Linked DNA regions of Homo sapiens: regions 1, 2, 3, 4 and 5 are each linked to region 6. Evidence: promoter capture Hi-C in 16 types of primary human blood cells and fetal thymus (Javierre and others, 2016). All regions are on one chromosome and are shown on one strand. The core of a region is centred on a gene start or on the middle of the fragment in contact, and the rest is flanking DNA. Distances in the headings are between cores, read along the strand shown. Region 1 has its middle 110 kb from the start of LSM8. Region 2 has its middle 90 kb from the start of LSM8. Region 3 has its middle 140 kb from the start of LSM8. Region 4 has its middle 68 kb from the start of LSM8. Region 5 overlaps CTTNBP2 (cortactin binding protein 2). Region 6 holds the start of CTTNBP2 (cortactin binding protein 2).

What was found. The method cuts DNA at HindIII sites, captures the fragments that hold promoters and counts their contacts. A CHiCAGO score of 5 or more calls a contact.
Region 1: a fragment that was not itself captured here is called in contact with the fragment with the promoter of CTTNBP2 in region 6 in 1 of 17 cell types (megakaryocytes); the score reaches 5.1 in megakaryocytes.
Region 2: a contact is called between a fragment that was not itself captured here and the fragment with the promoter of CTTNBP2 in region 6, in 1 of 17 cell types (megakaryocytes). The highest score is 11.2, in megakaryocytes.
Region 3: a fragment that was not itself captured here is called in contact with the fragment with the promoter of CTTNBP2 in region 6 in 1 of 17 cell types (megakaryocytes); the score reaches 6.0 in megakaryocytes.
Region 4: a fragment that was not itself captured here is called in contact with the fragment with the promoter of CTTNBP2 in region 6 in 1 of 17 cell types (megakaryocytes); the score reaches 9.2 in megakaryocytes.
Region 5: a fragment that was not itself captured here is called in contact with the fragment with the promoter of CTTNBP2 in region 6 in 1 of 17 cell types (megakaryocytes); the score reaches 7.1 in megakaryocytes.

The regions. Positions count from the first base shown.
Region 1 is chr7:118,072,193-118,074,892 of GRCh38, reverse strand. No RefSeq gene overlaps it. Among named protein-coding and RNA genes, the nearest start is that of LSM8, 110 kb to the left of the region's middle. The HindIII fragment of the contact is 165 bases long and covers 1,234-1,398 here.
Region 2 is chr7:118,092,444-118,095,225 of GRCh38, reverse strand. No RefSeq gene overlaps it. Among named protein-coding and RNA genes, the nearest start is that of LSM8, 90 kb to the left of the region's middle. The HindIII fragment of the contact is 6,249 bases long and covers 1-2,782 here.
Region 3 is chr7:118,041,972-118,044,705 of GRCh38, reverse strand. No RefSeq gene overlaps it. Among named protein-coding and RNA genes, the nearest start is that of LSM8, 140 kb to the left of the region's middle. The HindIII fragment of the contact is 1,581 bases long and covers 692-2,272 here.
Region 4 is chr7:118,114,419-118,117,135 of GRCh38, reverse strand. No RefSeq gene overlaps it. Among named protein-coding and RNA genes, the nearest start is that of LSM8, 68 kb to the left of the region's middle. The HindIII fragment of the contact is 3,203 bases long and covers 1-2,717 here.
Region 5 is chr7:117,721,288-117,724,038 of GRCh38, reverse strand. All of the region lies in intron 19 of CTTNBP2 (cortactin binding protein 2), which reads left to right. The region is part of intron 1 of LOC105375469 (a long non-coding RNA gene); the gene reads right to left. Among named protein-coding and RNA genes, the nearest start is that of CFTR-AS2, 75 kb to the right of the region's middle. The HindIII fragment of the contact is 1,119 bases long and covers 705-1,823 here.
Region 6 is chr7:117,872,004-117,874,703 of GRCh38, reverse strand. It overlaps CTTNBP2 (cortactin binding protein 2), which reads left to right and starts at 1,263. Exons shown (of 23, transcript NM_033427.3): 1 at 1,263-1,369. The coding sequence starts at 1,289. The HindIII fragment of the contact is 3,697 bases long and covers 20-2,700 here.

The DNA of each region.
Region 1 (2,700 bases), core at 67-2,566, 200 kb before region 6:
TGAGGCAACCATCTTTGCCAGCACTATAGCCTAGAAGTTCCCATTTATAATCGATATCAAGGTGAGGGTGGAAATAGCAAAAAACATTTTAATCTCTTATTTCTTAACCTCATTTTCTTTTAAAAAGTAAGCAACTCTGAGCAGCAACTTGACTTGTTATTAAAGAACCACTGATATGCTGATATATCTATGTTCTCTGATTGCTTCACAGGAGAAGTTTTTCCCTTTATAATAAAATTAAGAGACTTTAAGAGCAGTGACCATGTTATAGATGTATTGTGCATTTTGGGGAATGTCCAACCAATACTAGGCATGTTCTAAATTAATTGTTATACTCAATTGATAGATTGAGTTTTCATAATTTCATGGTGGATACTCACAGAGGAATCATGGAAATCATTTTGCATGATACATGGAAAGTAAGACAAGATTTCCCTTCTACTTTGAACATTGATAGGCATTAGTTAAGGAGTGAGAGGACAGTTATATTCAGTGAGAAGGCTGGGGAGAGTGAATGCAGTGCATTAAGAGAGAGTATGCACATCCATTTGAATATAGATGGGACAGAACAGAATTAGAAGCTGACTGTTGGAATGTTCAAATATAGACAATAAAGAGTAGTGAGGTGACATGATGGAAGCAGGTAAGGTTCATATTTCCCACACTTCCACCTACGTGGAGGATTAATGGGGCCCCAATAGTACAAAAGAAACAAAGAAGATGCATTCTGGCTTTGGTACCAGCTTTCCTCAAGTCATTTAGAAAGACTCTGAGGTGTATTATAAGTAACTCTGATTGGCTTCTTCCTGCCTATCTTGTGTTCCTTCCCACTCCCTGTGATAGACCCTACCAATGGCTGCAGGTGTCCTGAACCATTGCTAAGACATCACCTGTCATCTCTGGTGTAGACGTTGTGGCACCCAGATCATGGTCATCTCTCCTGCTTTTAATGTACTTCTGGTGGCCATAACACTCAGCTCCTCCCTAGTCCCTTTGCTGAAGTGGGATAACTCCCACTCATATTATACTCCGTTACTTGGTCCATGAAGTAGCAGGTTCTCTCTTCTCAGAGTCTTGTTGAAAATTATTATCGCAGCCTGTTGCCCCCTGGGCTCTGACCACAAGTTGTAGGGGATAAGGAGGACACCAGAAAGCAAGGTGGATTTATACATACTAAACTGTTATATTAGTTATCTATTGTTGCATAACAAATTATCCTGAAAGTTAGAAGCTTGAAACAATAAGCATTTATTATCTCATGGTTTCTGTCAGTGAGGAATCTAGGCATGGCTTACCTGGGTCCCCTGGCTTGGGGTCCCTTCTAAGGCTCCAGTTAAGATATTAACAAGGGTTGTAGTCATCTCAACGCTCAAATGGGGAAGGATCTACTTCCAAGCTTACTCACATGGCTGTTGGCAGGGCTCGGGTCTCCTATTGACTAGACACCAGCTCCTTGCCACATTGGCCTATCATACAGTAGCTCAGAACATGACAGCTGGCTTCTCTCAGAGCAAGTGAGGAAACGAGTGAATGAGAGCAAGCAAGAGGAAAATCACTGTTTGTTTTTTGTAAATTGATCTCTGAAATGACGTCTCCTCACTTTTGTCATATTCTGTTTGTTACATGCAAACCAGTAGGTCCAGCCTACATTCAAGGGGAGGGAATTACATAAGGGTATGAATACCAGAAAGGAGAGATCACAGGGGCCATTTTAGAGGCTGCCTATCACAACTATTGAGAATTTCCCTTCTTTTCAGGTGACGGTAACCTTTGAAGATCTGAAGTTCCTTATGTAACTATCAGGCAAACTCAGACAAGTCTGAATTTGTCTAGGTGTTCACTCTCAGACCTGGTTTTACAATTTTTTTTTTTCAGAAAAGGAATCTGGCAGCAAGGTACTAGATGGATTAAAGAGAACTTGTGGTTGGAGATGTAAACCAAGGGACTATTGTAATAGTCTTTACAGGAAGTAATAAAAATATAAACCAGGATGCTGGTAGGAAACTTGAATGAAGGAGAGGGACACAAAAGAGGGCAGAAAAGCAAGAATCAAAAATACTTCATGCCAGACTGAATACTGAAAGTGGTAACAAAGGAACAACAATGCCTTGGATTCCCAGGTGCCTCCAGAGTATTGGTGACATTTATGAAAAAGGGGAAAGTTTGGAGAAAGAAAATCCAGGTTTGGGAAAAAAATGGCTAGATTTGATGTGTTAAATTGAGGTTTTATTTAAATTATGAATGAGCAAATACAGTCTCCCTAGTTTTGTTCTGGTTGGTTGGTCTGAGACATGCGAAGACATAGAAAAGAGTTCCATGACCTTGAGGATGTTATAATGTCTGGACAGTTGAACCGGTGACTGAAGCTAGAAACAGAGGTCACAATAGGAGTTTTATAGTTATTTGTCATCAATACAGAAACTCTGAGAGAAGATAAGGTAAAGAGGAAGGCTCAAAGTTGAGAGACAGGAGAAACAAGAGCCCTCAGATAATCTTTTAGATTCAAAATCACTCTGTGATTTACAACGTACTCTAACTTACATGATTTTTTCTTTGATATAGCAGTTACAGTTATATCCATGTTTTGCATGAGTACAGAAAGGATGGATCAAAGGTTAAGGAGTGACCTCCCTAAGGTCGCACAATTTGTAAATAATAAAACTGGGATTGACTGCAGATCTTTTGATGTCCTGCCCAGTG
Region 2 (2,782 bases), core at 74-2,573, 220 kb before region 6:
ATTCACGATCTCAACATCCTTCTAGACCCAAGAATAAAAGGACCCCTGCATCCCTACATAGTTCAGTAGCTCAGGATCCAGTTACCTTATTTATCCAAGGGAAATATTGCTCTAAGGCCCCTCTAACCTTGTTCTTTATACCTGGTCTGAATAGCCAGTCTTTTACATCCTTCCTCATCACCAAGCCTCCATTTTGTTTTCCAAATCTAAGTTCAGTTTGTTATTTGTCCTGACATTCTCCAGCTGTTCTTACTGAGGCCTAAGCTGGAGTCCCTCTAGTTAGACTAACACCACATGTTGCCAATCCACCTGCCAGCCAGCCCTCCTCACAGCTTGTTTCTAGACTTCTTGAGCTCTGCAGAGTTCACCTGCCAGGACACCTTACTCCCTTACGAACCTCCCTGATAAAAGATTTCTGCCCAAACTTCTCCCTGTCCCTGGCTCTACATTCCATGTCTTTGCTGAAGCAGACTCTTTCTGTCTATGTTGAGCCTCTCTGACGATCTTTACTTGCTACTTAAAAAGCCCAAGTTACTGTCCCATGACAATGGTTCTACTTCCTCTCCTGGCCCAAGAGCCCCTAATGACCAGGCACAAGCTCCCTCCTTCAGTCTGCTATGCTTTGATTAAGCCTGTGTAAGACATTTTCCTCAATTTAAGAAATACTTAATTAGTTCATCCTCTGGTTTAGGTGTTTTAGAGTAACAAATAAACGTATCTTTGAGTGCCTTATATGACAAATGCCCATTTATGTATCTGTAAATTGACTGAAAGTTCAATTTAAATAAAAATCTACTTCTTAATTAATTGCTCTTATGCTTTTCTATTCCCTTCTCACCAAACCCTCCTGAATGACAGTTACAACAGAGAGAGGCCTCTTCTATAATCTCAGGCCAATTTACCAGGTACCAGGAGAATAATCCTCTTCCACATCCAAGGCTGCTTCTAGGTAGCAGTGACACCTTGTAGAACAGGTATAACAACATGTCTAGATTTTATTGTATACTCAGATTTATGATTTATTACCTACACCAACTTGATCAGCAGGAGAAGCAATATATCTGTAATACTAAAGATGTCAAAAATATAGGCTTGGATTTACACATTTGTACCAAGCAAATTCTCTTCCTTTTTGTTCTCTTTTTGTTCCGCTCAGATCCTACCCAGTATCTCCCTACAGCAGTTTTATAGTAAAGCCTACCCTGAAACCATATCTCACATTCTGGGTTCCTTCAGTTCTCATGGCATTTGACAATAAAGTGCTAGAACAATATTAAATTCTAAAGATCAGGTTTGGCTGCAAGTGATGGAAAACCAAAACAACAGTGATTTAAACAAGATTCATTTTTTTTTATTTATCTGATTTGTATTCTCCACGAGTACTATGATGACTCCATGATCATCAGAGATCCAGACTCCTCTTGGATTTTTGCTTTGCCGTCTTCAATACCTGGCTTTTATCTTCAGTGCAAGGTGGCTGCTTAGGTTCCAGCCATGAGGTCCACAGTCCAGCTGGCAGGAAGAGAAGTGGCAGAGCACACTCCTTCCCTTTAAGGATGTTTTCTAGAAGTCACACAGGACACTTTTGCTAAATCTCATTCACCAGACTTTAATGGCATGACATCATCTGGCTACAAGGAAAGCTGGGAAGTATAACTTTGATTCTGGGGAACGCATGCCTTGATAAATTTGGGGGTTTTATTACTAAAATGGAAAGGGAGGAAAGATTCTCAGGTGACAATTAGCAGTTCCTAAGACAATTTTCCATTTTGGCAGAAATCTGTTTTCCTTAGATTACTTTTTTATTTATATCTACTTGCTTATAAAACACTATGAGATTTTTAGTTGTCTTATATTTTATTTTATACCCATGAATTGAATATCATGTCAGTAATGATACAATTATTTTTAATTTTATTGTCACCATAATTAACCTTTAATATGACATCTTGCCTGGGTTTTAAGTAAGGAGATACTGAATAAATTTTTTTTTATTTGTTTGTAATGCAAAACATTGTATTAAGTATGCAGATATATTAATAAAATAAAGCATGTCACCAGTCTAGATTATCCTTTATTATTACTCACTTAGACGCTTTTAATAATTACCCATCTCAAACTCTTTCTCTTAAATATATTGAAAACATCACTACTGGAAAACTTTCCCTGAAATGTTATTATGACAATATACTTCTCCATGTAAAAACCACAATGATTTCCCTATTTCCTATAGAATAAATCAATTTTCTTAGCCTAGAATTTATTGCTCCTCATAATCTGATCCAAATAGCTGCCTTTAGGTTTGTCCTTCATTACATCCTTTGTAAAAAACTCATCCTTAGTGGAAATATTCCTTACTCCCCATAAGTACCTGATTCTTACGATCTCTCTAACATTGCTTATGAAGTTTTTTTCTGCTTTGACTAAGCACCCCATCCCATCCCCATCACCAGTTTCTTCTCCATCTACATATTTTATCATTTCTTTAAGGATCTGTGAAATGCCACCTTCTCCGCTACATCTCTGGCTCACCACCAATACTTCTTGTAAACTTACTACTATAGGAGTTTGCACATCTCTTATTCTCTTACTGTATCACACATTTATTAAGTAAATAAATTTCATTTAATTTCAGTTCACCCCACAGCACGTTGTAGATAAAATTTATGCAGTAAATATTTACTGAATGAATGAATAACATAATTCATTGGCTTTGTCAACAAGTTAGAGCTCCTTAGAAGCAAAACTTGTATCACAAGCGATAAAAGAGCATATTTAGTCT
Region 3 (2,734 bases), core at 233-2,732, 170 kb before region 6:
GTGTCTAACAGACATATCCAAAGTGGAAACTATGATCTTCCTCTATGCATTCCTCAACTTGTTTCACTTTTGGTATTCCATATTTCAGTAAATGGTATCATCACTCAGTTTCTTAAGCCAAAAACCTGTCATCTTTGACACTCACTTCTACCTGACTTCCCACATTCAATTAATCATCATATTGTGTTTAATTTTATCTCCAGGATGTATTTGGCACCTATTTCTCTCCATTACCAATACCAGCACCATCCTCTCCCACCTGGACTACTGAAATAATATAACTGGTATCCTTATTGCCTTTTTTGGCCCAAAACAATCCACTCTTCATTTGCTCTTTCTGCAGTTTCTGATCACATCAGTCCTTAACATAGCAACTTTCAAGGGCTCTTGTTTGCACCCAAATATTTAATAGGTTCTACAAAGCCAGTGTTGCTCAAAGTATAGGCAACAAACAAATAAATTAAAATCTCTTGGAATAGGGGCTAGAAACTTGTATATATAATATATAAAGTACTCCTATTATAGTCAATCTTCATAAAATTTCATTTTATACAATGTTTACTGTTATAATGTGTAATTATTTTTTAGCAGAAAACATTATTCTTTAGCAGTAAACATTATTCTTTTTCACTAAAAGCCTAAGGAGATTTTATTCTTCATCTCATTTCAAGAAGCTTTTTCATTAAAAGCTTACTTTTATGTTTAATTTACAAAAAAAATTAATATTTTTGTTATTTTGAAGAAGACTATATTATTAAAAATTATATTGGTAGCTCAAGCCAGAAAAACATCACAACAGTTAAAGTCTCATGGTTAGAGATAATTAAAAAGTAAAATTTAAAGCTATATGTGCAATTTGTTACAGATAAGCATGGTATGATGATCAACAAAATAATTTTTAAGCACAAAATATATTACATAAAAATAAATATCTGGGAAGTATAGTAAAATATTAATATGAGTTCACAAAAAGGAAGAATGAAAATTTCTAAATGTTAAGGAAGAATTTAGAAATACATTTTAAATGGATTATGGTGGTTATCATATAGCACTTGATTTCTCATAAAATACTTAGAAGAATGTTGTAATAGTTTTATTTGCTAAAGTCCAACTTTTACAATGTGCCAGAAGTTAAATGCTTTACAACTACTTAATAATTTGATGATTTTTTTCCTGCAAACAAACTTTTGAGGAGATAAATTATTTCTCAAAATTTTGGAAAGGATTTATGAGGAAAAATATAAAGACCACTATTCTAAGTCAGAATGGTAGTGTTTGATGCAAATTTCTCCATCCCAGCTAGTTGAGTTCTCAACTGATGTAAAAGTGTGTGAACAATTATTTGTCATTAAAATAAAATTTTTATTTCTCTATCCCAGCTAGTTGAGTTCTTAACTGTTGTAAAAGTGTTTGACAAATTAATTTTATTTGTCATTAAAAGTAATAACAAAAACTGCAATTACTTTTGCACCAACTAATTGGCATTGAGACTTCTATGGAGTATTATGGATAAGGATATTCTTTAAGTTGGAAAAAAGTCTAATAAGGGCCCCTCTTATTGATTTATTTTCCCAGAGTAAGCCTCAAAAAAAGGCTGTGGCCCCGAAGTTGCAGGTTAAAGGACAGTTATATAACCAATAAAGTCTATTTAATCCCTAAGGGCCTGGAGACATAAGGAAAGACAATCCTTCCTATCTTGACTTAAAATGACTGTCACCCAGATGCATGTCTGAATAGATAAGAATCTAGGAATATGCAGAAAAGTAGACCTAGACAGAAAGTATCTGAAGACTGAGAAGTCTGAGATTTCCTAAGAGTTATGCCACTGTTGAGAATTTGACCAGAATTGAAATTCCTTGTTTTCACAGCAGGGCTCTGGAGTTCATCTGTTGTGTTTAGAATTTTTTCCATCCGTTTTCTGCAATAAATCAGGTTTCTGCCTTCTGTTATCCTGCATTTATTTACCTGTTAAACAGAATTACTGTGTAAAAACTTATTATCCTTTTATCTTAGAGTATTTTCCTTCTCACTCCTTTACTAGTATACAGGATTGTGTGTGTGTGTGTGTGTGTGTGTGTGTGTGTGTGTGTGTGTGTGTGTGATTCTGGTATTTGTTTAGTCTACTGAAGATGGGCCTTGAGCAGGGAGAGGGATACAAGTGATAGCTTTGAGGCAAAAATGTCAAGCTGATTGCTTCAAAGAATGCCAGATGCTAATAAGATGAAGAAAAAAAATCACAGGGCAAACATGGAATTTAGGGGGAAATGAAGCTTGCATTATAGTGGAAAAGACAATAAACAGTATAAATAACTAAAATATATAGAGATAAACACTAAGGAGAAAAAAGTGCGGAAGGAAGAATTTGCAAAGGAGGAAGTAAGCCATGTGACTCTTAGGGAAATGCAATTAAAACTAAGGAAACAGCCAGTTAAAGATCTGGGTGGTGACAGCATGCCTAGTAAACATCGGTAACATATGAGAAAAATAAGGGTTGAGGCCAGAGAGTTGATGGTAGCCAGGTCATACAAAATATTATGAATGACTTGAGGGACTTCAGCTTTTATTCTGAGTATGCTGGGAAGCCATTGCTGGATTTTTAAGCAGAGATGTGATAGGTTATGACAGAATTGGTTGAGATTAGACTGATGTGGAGCAAAGATAGACTCCAAATGCAAGTTAGACAAGGACATTAATACAGGTGAGATTTGATAGTGATTTAGACAATGGGAGTCAC
Region 4 (2,717 bases), core at 106-2,605, 240 kb before region 6:
AATTAGCATTGATAGCATGTTAGTCATGCAAAAGTCTCTATTTACCAGACTTTTTGGGAATGATGAAAATGGGTGAATTCCAAGGTCTTTTTGATGGTTCTATATGACTGGCTTTTAATTGCTCTTCAACAAACTCATGGGCTCTTTGCAATTTCTCTCCCTTTAAAGGCCACTGGTCTACCCAAATTGGATCTTGAGAGAGCCTCATCAGAGGTAGGGGAGGGATAATAACAGTGGCCATTACTAGAAAGGGGTCCACAGAATGACCTCCCATTGAGCTAATAGGTCCCGTCCCCAAAGATTAGCAGGGATGGACGTTATTAGAAGTTGTATAACTGCATTTCTTTCCTCTGAATCACAACATGTTGGGGGGTACATGCTCTGCTTGGCTGTGTGAGCTTCCCCAGTGCTGACAATTTTTTGTTTCTGAGTGGCCCGAGGCCAAGTTTCTGGCCAGTTTTGATCACTAGTGATTGAAGTATCTTCCCCTGTGTCCAATAAGCTAGTAAAATTCTTATTTCCAATTTTTAAGGTAATCATGGGTCTCTGATCAGTGATTAATTGATTCCTGTATACTCCTGTGGCTCCTGTGCTTCCAAAACTTCCTTTTCCCCTTTCCTTTCCATGGGTGTTGGGGACCTAGTATGGTAAAAGCAGTAACTGAGCTATCTTTGATCCAGGGGGAAGAATATGCAGACCTTTACATTTCATCATAACTAATATCTCACCTTGATAATCACTATCAATCACCCCAGTGAGCACATTAATTCCTTTACTGGATAGGCTTGATCGCTCTAGGACTAATCCCACTGTTCCCAGAGGCAGTGGGCCCCAGATCCCAGTTGCAACCTTTTTAGGGTCTTCTCCTTCTTTTAGCACTAATTTGTTGGGGCAAAGTAAGTCCAGCTCTGCGCTCCTAGCAGTGACTGCTCTGAGAGAGAGGACTGTGGGCTTCCCATCTGACCAAAGCAAGCCGCTGGCATTGCCCCAGCTTTTAGCGGGGCCTGAGGCCAGCCCCTCATGAAGTTTCCCGCCTGGTTACTTATGGGGTTGCTGTTTTTGTCAAATTTGGACCTGAATTGATTTGCCCAATGTTTCTCCTTTTTACGTTGGGGGCATATAGAAGGAGTTTCTTTTCCTGAGTTACCTTGGTCTTTATTATTGGGGCATTCCGTCTGCACATAACCTGGCTCTCCGCATAGAAAACACTTTGGGTTTCTGTCCCTTTCCACTTTAGGAGGCCTTAATGCCATAGCCAATATTTTGGCTTTGTGTGTTTCAGTCCCCACCAGTTGACATGCTCGTATAAGTTCCTCGACTGTGGCTGCCTTTCCTCTGATTGTCTGCATTGCTTGTTGGCAATTGACATTAGCATTTTCATAAGCCAATTGCAAAAATAAGATATCAGCGGTCTGGGCATGACTAATTTGTCTCTTAATTGCCTGGGTTAACTGAATGATAATTTCAACAAATGGCTCCTGAGGCCCTTGTCGAACATTTGTAAAAGATCCCTGTTGAACTCCGCTTTTGGGAATTTGTCAAGCCCTAAGATCACACAAAGACACATGTACATAGGCCTGGGGATCAAAATTTAGTTGTTGTTGTACATCGGCATGGGGACTCCTCCCCTGGAGCATATCAGCATTATGTCTTGCCTAGCCAACTGATTCTGGTAGGCTTGTTGTTCACACGACTCATCATATTCTGCCCTCCAGAGGAGGTATTGGCTGGGCTCCAAAGTTGTTTTAGCTAGCACTGACCAGTCCCATGGGAAGTTGTCTGCCATGGCTTCAATAATTCCTTTCATAAATGGGCTAGTGGCTCTGTTTTCTTTAATACTTTTTCTTAGCTCTTTATAAGAGTTAAAAGAAATGGGTTCATGTACCTGATTGCCTTGTTGATCTTGCACTACCTGGCAGGGTTAGAGTTCCCCTTCTAATGCCGCTTGCCTGAGACAGGGTCCCATAGCTGTAGCGTATCCCTTGTCTTTTTTCCAATTTATTGGAGGAGGGGGCTCAGGCAAAACCTTCATTTCCTCTTTGTTATTTTGGCCCAGTGTTAGCGGGGCTGAGGGATAAGGAGGTGGTAAGGTAGGTGACGGTTCCTCCTCCCTTCCCTTTTTAGGCTCTTCTGCATAGAGCGGGACTACAGCCACCCTAAATAAAGCCCATAATGTTAGAGATGTTACTGGGACCTGTTGCCCTTGTGCATGATGTTGTTTAAGATTTCTCCCCACTTGTTCCCACAGCTCTACGTCTAGTGTACCTTCTTCTAGGAACCATGGGTTATGGGAAACAACAGTTTGCATTAGGTCCCTTAATTGAGCCTGTGAAACTGAGGCTCCACTAGCTTTAAGCAGCTGTTTCAATACTTCTGTATACTGTTGCTGTTGAGCTGATAACTGTTGTCCCATGATGAAACCCTAACCTGAACAATTCCCTTGAACTTGGAAATCCCTAGTGGGCACCAATGACTTACTGACTTACTGACTGTACAGTCTCTTCACCTTTGTTTTCAAGGGTTCTGTCATGAACCGTTGCAGCATTCCTCATGCGGGCCATCACCTGCTGGGTTCAACCTGCAGATCGTGACCAAGTGACAGACGAAAAAATGCACTTAGACACAGGTATCCAGTGAAAGAGCGGTCTAGGGGACTGGGCCACTCACAGACACCAAAGAGTGTGCTGTAAAGAGTTGTAGCAGCTGTGGTCGTGACG
Region 5 (2,751 bases), core at 15-2,514, 150 kb after region 6:
ATATATTCCGGCCAGGCATGGTGGCTCATACCTGTAATCCCAGAACTGAGAGAGACCAAGACGAGTGGATAGCTTGAGGTCAGGAAGGCGAAACCCTGTATCTACTAAAAATACAAAAATTAGCTGGGCATGGTGGCGCATGCTTGTAATCCCAGCTACTCAGGAGCCTGAGGCATGAGAATTGCTTGAACCTGCGACACAGAGGTTGCAGTGAGCCGAGATCACACCACTGCACTCCAGGCTGAGTGACAGAGCAAGACTGTGTCTCAAAAAAAAAAAAAAAAAAGATCCTGCCGTCATCGAGTTTATATTCTAATAAATTGGACAGATTTCATATGATGGGACATCAAGTGAAAAATATGTAAGCTTTCATTCTAACAAAGAAGATGTAACACGTCTGTATCTTCTGGTGTTAGGCCTATTCCTTTTGGCATTGATAATAAGATAATCAGCTATTATATAAATTATAAATGTCTTTCCCAAAACAAATCCAAATTGGAATAAAAATGAAAAGAAATTTCCACCTCATGTGCACTGTGGACTTCAGATTATGTCATTCATTTTCCTCCTCTCTCAAAGTATTTGTTTTGTGAAATTTTATGCCAACTTTATAGCAGTGGGGTTTCTAAATGAGGTGCTTAAAATCTTATATTTAAAAAACATAAAGTTGCTTTTAGTTATGAGTATATTTTCATTTTTAAGCTTGTATTTTGTTAATTTTAATAAAAATTTAATGTTTTTTTAATCCTATCAATATATGCTAGGGTTCCCCAATTACCCTAAGTGCATGATAGCAAATTGTGACCCCTTTTTAAGTGACTGAATGAAAATTTACTGAATAAAATGAATTTTCTTATACTTTTAAAAAGATCAGTATTTTATATTGATAATAAGATACTGTTTTGATCTTAAGAGCTTGTTATTACTTCCCAGAGTTGTCAGAGTGTTTGATTTAGGGAGTAAGAATCACTAGACTCCAGCCCACCAATTTAGTATAGACCCCCAGATGACTTTCTGTAGCAAGGATTATACCTTTCATTTGCTCTTAGTCCTTTCAGTATGCAAGAAAGCTCCAAGACAATGATAATGATCTCCATTTACAGAGAATAAAACTGAGGTTCAGAAACCCTTGGGCACCTGCTCCAAATCACCTCTCCTGGAAATATGCGGTTCTGTAATTGTTTCTTGCAAGCCCAGTGCTATTTTCTGTAGTCCACAACACCCTGATCTTATTAGACGTGCAGTGATCTATGGGTACTCAGATAACTGGACACCCATTGAGGCTCTTCACTGTGTCATTTCTAAGTTTATTAGAATCTCTATAAAGTTTAAGACCAACTTTTTGAGCTAACTTAATTGTTGGTATATGCTTTAGAGTAGACAAACAGAATCAACAAAATGAATATGAATTTAAAGCAGTATCATGGAAGAGTCTGGATCAGAAAACTATATTACGCTTAAATGTAAAAAAAGATGAATAGACTTGAAATTATTTGTATTTTTAATAATTTTAGTTTTAGAACTATTTGATATCAAATGTTATATTCTTTGAAGCATGAACTTCTTTGACAGAATAAAACTACAAGAGTTTACACTGACTTCAAGGAAATTTCTAAAAGTTAACTTTACAAAGTATATAATTCATGAGTCAGTAGTTGGGTTAGAAACCATGACTGACATGCCTCTCGTTATTTTTATAATGGTAAATTTTTCCAATAATTACACTGTATATATGATTATTACAATGGTTGGGGTGACTTTGGTTAAAAAAAAAAAAAAAACCAACACAGGAATCCTTTTGCATGCAGATCACTATGGAAGCTTATCAAATTTGATAAAGAGACAGCCCATTTCTTTCCTGACCTAAAACAGAAAGGCCAATGATGTCAGATCCCAGGCTTTTAGGGCAGAGCCCAAGGCTGTGCGCTATGTAGTAATTAGTAGAAGCCACTAGTCAGTGCTTTGGACAATAATGACAGAAGTATGACTAAAGAAACTCGACAGTGATTTTCTTTGATCTGCTTTTAATGAGGATATATTTACTTTTCCAAAACATTCTTTAGAGAAAATTTGTGTTGACAACATTAATATTTTTAGAATTCACTCAAAAGCAACTGTTTTAATGCATTCATAACATTGAGTCTAAAATGGTTTATAAGAGTGTTTCTCAAACTTCAACCATAACCCATTGTGAGAAATACATTTTACACCATGATCTGTACACACAAGCCTCTGCATTTGTGTGTATATATAACTGATATGCATCAGTATACCTCCAGCAAGAAATACAGGCTATTTTCTCTTTTTTTAACTGTGTCATAATCTGCAGTTTAAAAAACATATGATTTTCAGCATTTAAATTCTATGACTTTTTGTACCCTGTTCATATTTTCTCTTCTGTATAATGCAAAAGCTGTTAAAAGTTAAATTTCTACAAGTACATGGCTAATGCCACATATCAAAAACTATACTTGATTACATAGTAGTGTTAGAATGCACACAAAGGTAGAGAAAGGGTGATTACCATCATCAAAAGGCAGGTATTAAAATCTTCTTTTGGTCCTTTGAGAACAAGGGCCTAAGGAACTAGGGACTTGACTAAAGAGAAGAACGGCCATCCATAAAAGTGAAATTCAGGATTCTTGACTTGAGCTTCAGGTAGTGTTAGTTGTACCGAGTTCCATCAAAATGTACTCGAGGGAGTTGGCTATTCCTTGACTTTCCCACAGTGCCTCTGCAGGAGGCTATGCC
Region 6 (2,700 bases), core at 14-2,513:
GAAAAAAAAAAAAAAAGCTTTGATCTGTAACCCTTGGACTGAACATTCTAGTCATTCATCTTCCAAAATTTCAAGTGCAAGATTTGGTTGTGGTTTGATTTTACGTCTTTGAGACACAGCTTGAATGTCTCAATTTGATTTTATGCATTCGACACATTTTTAGGGATCTGGTGATTTGGGAAGGGCTGTACCATATGGTCTTGGTGAGGTGATAGATTTTCACATTCTGGAAATTGGCAGCAAAGGGTAGGAACTGAATTAGATGTGGAAAGGGAAGATTAAGCGTTTGGGCCTAATTCACTCATCTCATGAAAAATCTTCTGAGACGTGTAATTCCCATAAAATCTATTTTTACAAATACGGCTTTTGTTTGATTGTTTTTGGTGTATATGTACACGTGTCCTCACACGTAGGGAGTAATTTTTTTAAATTCTCTCAAAAGTAGAGGACATGACATTTAGCTTTTAAAGCTATGACATTTAACACTTCTCAGTTAGTCCTTCAGGAGAGATCTCAGACTTAGGGGGGTCACAGAATATAAAACAGCCCGCTACACATTCCCTGAAAAGGAGATTGTATAGAAAGTTAGGAGCTGAGGGGCTGGTGCCACGTTCTAAAAGAAAACAGGACAGACAAATCGTTTTCATCTGAGAATTGTTTTTGGAGAAACACTAGAGTCAACGATAGAATAAATCAGAGCCAGGTGTGTATATATATAGGGAGGATAAAAACACCCTGGCGGCAATGAAATTTAAGAAAGAGCAATTTAAGAAGAAAGGGGTGCCCTGTGTGATTCCTCGCGGTGGGATAGAGGGAGCTGAAGTGTAGGATTTTCCCTGATCTTTCAGAGAATTCAGATTCAGGAGGCCTGACATTTAATCTGGTCTGTGCACGGATTTCTCCGGCTTGGTTGGGGTTCTGCGGAATGCAACGCTCCTCGGGCGCTTTCTGCCTTCACCTCTTCCGTGGTCTTTGATCCCCAGTCCCCGCGCAGGGCCGCAGCGGAGCCAGGTCGTGCGCCCATTTCTCGCACCTCCACGAGCCCGCGGCTGGCGCCACCGGGCGCGGGACGCGGGGCGCGGGGCGGGACCGAGGCGGGGCGCTCCGGCGCGCAGCGGGTTAAGCGGCGAGGGCGGTGGCGAGGGGCGGAGGGAGTGCCGCGGCTCCCGGCTCCCGGCTCCAGGCGCCCGCGTCCCGGACAGCAGCGGGTTAAGTGCCGCCCGCGCGGAGACGGCTGAGTCCGGAGCCGCGGCTCCGAGCTCGCATTCGGATCCGCTAGAGCAGGAAGATGGCGACGGACGGCGCGAGCTGCGAGCCCGACTTGTCCCGGGCCCCGGAGGACGCGGCGGGGGCCGCGGCGGAGGCGGCGGTAACCGAGTTCCCGGGGCGGGCGCGGGGCTAGTGTAGACGCGGGCCGGGGGCGGCGCCGGGGTCCCAGCCGGACCCGACTTCGCACCCCCGGGGCGTTCCGTAAGCCCGGGACTCTCCGGTGCCCCTTCATCGGGGCCCCCCTTCCTCGGGATGCCCACACGGCGGAGGCCGCGGGGGGGAGCGGAGCGGCCACCCTGGCTGGGGATCCCTCCTGTCCCTTCCGCGCCCCACGGGAAGCGGCCCCGGGTCGCCCGGTTCTCCCAGCTCCCTGTCTGCGTCCAGTGCGACCCCTATGCCCACTCCCTCCGCTGCGGTCGCTTCTGGCCGGGGGAGAAGGCTGGGACGTGTTTCCTGGCGAATTTGACCCCCCATTGTTCACCTCTCGCTGCGCGCGTGGTTGCCAGCGCGTGTCTCGGGGGTGCCTGGTACCGCTCAGCGGACCCGGGAGAGCAGCTTGGGGGAGGTGGGCCATCGCCCAGCAGGTGTGGGGATGCCCATTGTGTGCATCTGGTCCTGTGCCTTCGGGAGGCCCACTGGGAGAGGGCCGTGTCCAGATGTGGGCGCTGCTGCCGCTGAGGCCAGCGCTTTAGGTCCTAGCAGCCTGCTGCCCCATTACTTGGTGGTAGTGATTGGGGTGGGGTGGATGGATTGGTTCTTCCCGAGACGATGCTCAGGAGAGGTGGAGGTTCTGCACCTGGTTTCAAGACATTGTTCTCCTTCTCTGGAGTCTAGAGGCCGAATGCGCTACCATTCTTGACTGGTCCTTACTTTCACCCCCTTAATATTCCGGTGTAGAGACTCGCTGGTGGTTTCCAGCCTCTACTTTGGGGAAGGGCTGGACCCACATTTCCTGGGTGGAAAAGGTTCTCGGTGTTTGGGAAGCAGCTTCGCAGGAGCTGCAAGGAGCTGCAGAGAAAGGCAGATCTGGGAGCGCCTCCCACTCTTGGCCAGATCTGGCTGCTCCCGCCGAAGGATGGGGTGGGATGGAGCGAGCGGGGCGTGGACGCCCCCCTCTTCCTATCAAGACCTGAGCAGAATCAGTGCAGGAGAGGGCAGGGCCGGGCGTAAACAGCGGGGGCCGCTTTAACTTCCTCCCACCCTCTGGAGGTAGGGCTTTCTGGAGAGGGAGAGGAGAGATGTGGAGGAAGGTACTTGGGGTGAGAGGAGCTGAGCCTGGCAATGGAAGGAGAAACGGGGAGGAGGACTGCTAATTTCCACTTGTAAAACTGGCAAGTTTTGATTTGAACTTTTGGGAAAATTGAGTTTCCATTCTTTGCATAGAAAATGAGAACTTTAAGATTTCAAACGAAACCTGCCCACTTATGTGAA